2 separate regions of the Homo sapiens genome follow, and region 2 is linked to region 1. The links are contacts of gene promoters, found by promoter capture Hi-C in human tissues and cell types (Jung and others, 2019). All regions are on one chromosome and are shown on one strand. Each heading gives the region's core, a stretch centred on a gene start or on the middle of the fragment in contact. The rest is flanking DNA. Distances are from core to core; before and after follow the strand shown.

Region 1 (2,569 bases), core at 1-2,500:
GACAAAGCCAGACTCCATCTCAAAAACATAAACAAAATAGAAAGGAAGCAAATTAAATTACGCTTTTGAAAGAAAGCAATTTATTAGAAGCCAAGAGAAAAGAAGTGATGTGATGAGAAGTGGAAAAGGACAAGAAGACAACAATGGACTAAGAAAGGAAAAGGACCATAATAAGCATAAGAAAGAAGAGGAATTGTGTGGTGGTCAGAAGAGATATTGTAGAAAGGAGGGAATGGCAGTCATGTGAAACGCGAAGCCGCCATCCCAGTCAATATGGGTGGGATGATGGGAACATTCCCCACATCCTAAAATATTCCCACAATGAGCTGGCTGTTCGAACATTATAAGGCTCTTTTCTGGTGTGTGTGCATGTTGCTTGTATAAGGCATATGCCCCCGACAGAAGTAATGTATTCAACTTTTAAGTCACTTAGTCTTTGAAGAAGCACTTTCAAAAGCGGATTTTTTTTTTTTTTTTTTTCCTGGAGGGAGGCTGACGGGACTAGAACTGAGGAAGAGTGTGGAAGTATGTCATAGCCATGGGCAACAGGTGCTGGCAATGTCAGAGATGAACTCTGCCTATTCACAATACTGTCAAAGTATAATTTTGAAAAAGCTAAAGCCATAATTCCCAGACAATTATCTAGACACTCTTACAAAGTGACGCTGTGTTAACTCGACTCATAAGAAATCAAATGTGTTAATGAAAAAAGAAAGGAACTATTTAGAGCTATTTCAGGCAGGGGGTGAGAAAACGGGGTAAAAGACAGGGGAAGAAAAGAGGGGGAAGAGGCGTTCCTGGAGGCGAGAGAGCCTGAGAAGGTGTGGGAAGCTTCGGGCTGGTGGGGGTGCATCGGGGAGCTGCCGCTGAAGTAACAGGGCTGGACGAGGGAGCCAGGGAGTACGGGGTGGGGGGGAAGACACACCTCCAAATTCAGCATTTCGGACTCTGAGGACTCCTCGGATCCCGCCTCGCCCTCGCCCTGGTCCTCATCTCCGTCCGAGTCCAGCTCCTGATAGCGGTGCATGAGCTGCTGGAGCAGGTAGGAGGAGGCTATGTTAGAGCTGCCTTTCGTCTTCTGCCCCATGGGAAAAGACCAGCAAGGCTGACGCTCTTTTTCTGCGCGAAACTGTAACGATCGGGCTCCAGTTCGGGATCTGCCCAAGCCTCTCAGGAGAGAGGCAGCTCTGGTCCTCAGGAGAGCCCTCTCGGAGGTCGCCATCTTGTTTAGCGGGGTTGCCTAGGAGACTGACCCCAGGCAAGGGGAACCGCGGAGGATTCTGGGGCCTGTAGTCTCCTCCGCGCGTACTCGCCTTCTGCAGGCGGGGCAGTGGGCGCTCCACTTGACTTTTCTTTTTCTCAGTCTCTTCTGTTATTTTTCTCTCTTTGGTCTGTTCTGTTCGCTTATCTTTCCTGTTTTCACCTCTTTTCGCTACACCCCCTTTCTTTGTCTCCAGCTGTTTCCTCCCTACCCTGAGACCCCTCTTAGAGCTTTGTCATCCCACGATAGGATCGCAGGTGCGCCACCGTTGCCGCTTCATTCCCAAAGGGCTCTTTCCGCAGAGTCGTACTTTAGAAGTGTCTAATGTCTCTAAAGCAGTCTGTAGGAAAGCTAGTACCACTGAAATTTATGCAAAGCGCGACGCTAGGAGATGAGGGTGCATATAAGTGAAATAGAAGGCATGGTTCCTGTCCTTATGATTTAATTGCAGATAATAAAGAGAAACTACCAGACGACGCCTGAGAGCTGATTTCCAATTAATTTACATTCCCCACCCCCACCCCCCAATGATAAGCCTTGTCCTTGGGGAGAAAAACTGGCAGTGGTCTTACAATCCAAACAGAGAGAGAAAAAACTGCTGTCAAATTGACACTGTATCTGAAAGCGTCTGAAAAGCTATTAGCATCCCATAAATAATTATATTAGTCAAGTGACCTGCATTGGCAATTATTTTAATCTTGTTGCACAGGCTCTCTTTGCAGTTAAAAAAAATACTCTTTCAAGATAACAAAGCACGATTTTATGCTAGTGTGATTTTATGTGACCCAAATCCCATAGCCTTAAGCTCCACAACGTCGACACTCTATAGAAAAGCAGAATGAAAATTATAGTAACTATTATTGCCATAGTGATGACAATAGAGATCCTTGCAGGGAAGTAGCCCTCATCCTTCTGGCCTTACAGGGCCTTTTCTGCACGCTTCAATGACAGCAGTTGCAAATACAAAATGATCCTGTCAATGGCTGTCAGGGGAGAAGGAGAAAAAATCCTTATGGACACCATCCATTGACGATTATCTTTCTCAGTGCTTGAGGGACCGTTAAAACTGACATAAAGCTTTCAGAATTACCTTCCTTCATTATCTTGCTAGTCATAAATGTAAAGGCCACAAGCAAAATATCTCTTTCTGCCAGGCTCATCTTGCTTTTTGCTTATTTCTTTTTCCAATAAGTAGAGATTCCTCCAAGGGAATTTTCCCCACCCTTACCCTCGTAGGGCCTGGCTTCGGCTAAGTGACATAGGGAAGAATCAGGCAGAAAGTGTAAAAATGCAAATCTCGATCGTTTT
Region 2 (3,714 bases), core at 626-3,125, 110 kb after region 1:
CCTGGGTTCACGCCATTCTCCTGCTTCAGCCTCCCAAGTAGCTGGGACTACAGGCACCTGCCACCGTGCCTGGCTAATTTTTGTAGTTTTAGAAGAGACGGGGTTTTACCATGTTGGCCAGGCTGGTCTCAGACTCCTGACCTCAAGTGATCCACCTGCCTCAGCCTCCCAAAGTGCTGCCATTTCAGGCACAAACCCTTCATTTTATAGATGAGGAAACTTCAGCCAAGAGAGCTGAAGTGACTTACTCAAATTCATGCAACAATTAAAGGTTGATTTATTAGCCAACTACTAGGTGAATGAAATGCTATTTAGTTTACTCCCAAATTTCCAAGAATACAACCCGACTCTGCCTCAATGTCTACACATGTTAACTGAGAGTAATAATGGTGACCACCTTGTGTGTCATTTTAATAATTTAAAATAATCTAGAAAAGTGCTTTCAAGTTATTTTTACTTTTGCTGCCTGCAGTAGGAGATAAGAGTAAAGGGGACTAAAGGAGAAACATGAGGTTGAAAGACGATGGCCTGGATATTGCATGAATCTCAAAGAAAACGAGGTCAGGGCCGGTATTTCTGCATGATAATCTCCTGAGCACTTGTTAAGCCGCAGATGCCCAAGCCCTACCCTCAGCCTTCTAAATCAGAACTTTTAGGGATGGAGTCAAAGAGTTTCCACTTAAAACAATTTCCCTGCAAGAGACCCTGTAGCTGATAGGGAAATTCTTATACCTTCTAGTCTTTGGGAAGCACTTGGTTTAGCTGCTTATTGTCTTAAAAGCACAGGTGTATGCATTTGGATTAATGATGGTGCTGCTCAGTGCTGTTGATGACGTGCTAATTTGTGGTGAGATTCTGAGAGAGTGGTCTCGGGTCTAAGTGTTGCTCCCCAAGGACAGTTGTTTGGAAGGCCAGCAGAAGACCCACAAGCAGCATGAACACCTGACAGCTGAGCAAAACCAACCCCATAACACCACCAAGGTAGGAAGAGTCTGCAGACCCCTCTGCCGTCAAACTGCCCATTAAAGCTGATTAAAACAGTTAGCAATCAGAGCTCAGTGGAAATCAAGGGGGAAAGACACCCAACCAGAGAAAATAAAGGAAAAAAGAAATGTTTGATAGCTAAGAGAATAACTGAAAAATAAAATCATATTTTAATATAAGCAAAAGAGAGACCCAACATTGACCAAAATGGTAGCCTTACTTCACGTAGTTAAGAGCATACATAGACTTTGGGGTTGGATTGACCTAAGTTTGAATCTGGCCTCTCTTCTTATGTAAACTAGGAATTTACTTAACTTCGTTAAGCTTTAGTTTTCTCATCTTTTTGCAGCAATAGCTAAATATAGAGTTTCAGGGACATTCAGTGAACCAATGTAGGTAAAGCATTTACTAACGTTCATGTCATGTGCTGAGATCATTATATAACAGTAATTATAATTACTCATATTATACTTGGAATATGTCATCATCATCATCATCATCATCATCATCATCACTGAGAGAAAGTCACCAATATAGGCCTCTAGGATGGTTTGTAAAAAAAAATCACATGTCTTGCAGGAGCTTTCCTTGTTTTAGAGAAAGTAGTTTAAAGTTAAAGGTCTGTAAAGCTAGGTACAAAAACTATTTCTTGGTAACCTATTTGTATTTAGCTACAGATGCTCTCTAAAACATACATCGTGGCTGGGCGCTGTGCCTCATGCCTGTAATCCCAGCACTTTGGGAGGCTGAGGCAGGCAGATCACTTGAGGTCAGGAGATCGAGACCATCCTGGCTAACATGGTGAAACCCCATCTCTACTAAAAATACAAAAATTAGCCGGGTGTAGTGGCGCGTGCCTTTAATCCCAGCTACTCAGGAGGCTGAGGCAGGAGAATCGCTTGAACCTGGGAGGCGGAGGTTGCATGAGGCAAGATCAGGCCACTGCACTTCAGCCTGGGTGACAGAGCAAGAGTCAGTCTCAAAAAAACAAACAAACAAAAAACAAAAACAAACATACATCGAAAGTAATACATATCAAACATATTTTAAAACCCATATTATTTTCATAAATACTTCAGATTGCTGACAGGTAGTCTATTACAGAGAAGTAAAAGGGGGAAAACCACCCAGAAACCAAATAAACAAAATACAATCATGGTAACTAGTCACAAGAACTTTATAATTCAGTAGAGAGAGAACATGTTAATAAAAATTAGATGAATAAAATATTAAAAGATGGGAACAAATGAAGAACAATATAGCACATAATGAGGTATTAATTTTAGAGTACAGAAAATTAAAAAAAAAGGATTATAAAAAGAGCAAGTGATATGGGCCAGGCACATTGGAGAAGGTTTCAGAGAACAAAAGGTCCTTGAGCGGAGTGCTGGCCACAGAATTCACTGTGGCCATGTGACCTTCCTTCAGTACTCTGATCTTTTTCTGTTTGGATCAGCAAAGGGTGTTCAGTAAAGCAGGAGGTGGGAATGAAGAGAAGGGCTTTCTTCCTGTATATGATAAAGCAGGTAAAGGGAGGGGCAGGATGGGAAGTCTGGCATGATGTGGTTTACAGGGGCTGTAGCTCTGCTTTTACGACAGCGATTGTGCCAGTTTCCTACTTTCAAGCATCAAAATTTAAACACTACATCTTTATTTAGAAAACAAGAAAGGTCAGCTTCCAGCCTCAAATTTTTCAGTGAGAATTCTAATAGAGTCGGTAAATGATCATTCTTGGGCTTCAGTCACAGAACAAGCTTAATATCTTTTCAGTACAATGCAACCCTTCCCTGGCAGAAAAATAGCCTCCCTGGGTGGGTTAATTAACTAACTATGATGAATACAAAGGTACTGCAGAATATATAAACAGCAGGATTCGATGACAGATTCTGGACAAGTCACTTCTTATTTCTGTTCCTTGGGATCTTTACTGGATAATAATAATACTCGCTATCTATGCTAATCTCTGAATCATTCCAATTCCAGCACATGTGCTACAAAGGGAAGAGTGTCACTGTCTGCCAGTAATCTCGAGGAACCCTAAATTATACATTGACAATATATATATACAAAATATGGTGACACTAATTGAGCATAATCAAAAGAAATCTTACTTAATCAAAGCCTCACACATGAGATATGTTTATGGGGAATCAAACGTCAGTTACTGAGAGATTTTTTTGAGAGGCTTAGAAGTATTTATTGCTCTGAAGTGCTCTGTGAAGGATATGCAGACCAGTAAGGCATGCTCACCCGCATTCAAGGAGTCCTAATTAAATGATTAATTAGAGATCAATTAATTGTTACAATGCACGGGACCTAATGTAAATGTAAAAAAAGGGAGATCAGAAAAAAGCGGCATGGTCAGAAACGGGACAGCAAGGTCAAATGAAGGTTTAATTGGAGAGATGTAATATTATTTAAATCTATTTATATAAAGATCTTTAAAAAGTCCATCAGATCAGGCCGTACAAGATTTGGTTTTATTACTGAATTTTATCAACTGGTATATTTCTTTCTATCTGGCAGTGGAAGCCATGTAAACCATCGCATTTCCCAATTTACTCTGGCCCCTAGGAAAATCAGGGTTAGCTTTTTATCACTATTAAATTTAAGAGATTTAACAGCATTTTAAGGGGCATCATCATTAAAAAAAGAATTTTTTTGGCAGCAGACTAGTCTCTTCTACAAAATTAATCCCAAATCTACACGGCTAATAATCTTGAGTCAAAA

The links. The method cuts DNA at HindIII sites, captures the fragments that hold promoters and counts their contacts. A contact is called where the count stands out against the background at its distance.
Region 2: a contact is called between a fragment that was not itself captured here and the fragment with the promoter of LRGUK in region 1, in 3 of the 25 tissues and cell types used here (H1 embryonic stem cells, dorsolateral prefrontal cortex and hippocampus).

What each region holds. Positions count from the first base shown.
Region 1 is chr7:134,126,021-134,128,589 of GRCh38, reverse strand. It overlaps LRGUK (leucine rich repeats and guanylate kinase domain containing), which reads right to left and starts at 1,250. Exons shown (of 20, transcript NM_144648.3): 1 at 926-1,250. The coding sequence starts at 1,222. RefSeq lists enhancers at 968-1,237, 1,348-1,397. The HindIII fragment of the contact is 8,230 bases long and covers 1-2,569 here.
Region 2 is chr7:134,017,200-134,020,913 of GRCh38, reverse strand. All of the region lies in intron 17 of EXOC4 (exocyst complex component 4), which reads right to left. Among named protein-coding and RNA genes, the nearest start is that of LRGUK, 110 kb to the left of the region's middle. The HindIII fragment of the contact is 3,677 bases long and covers 37-3,713 here.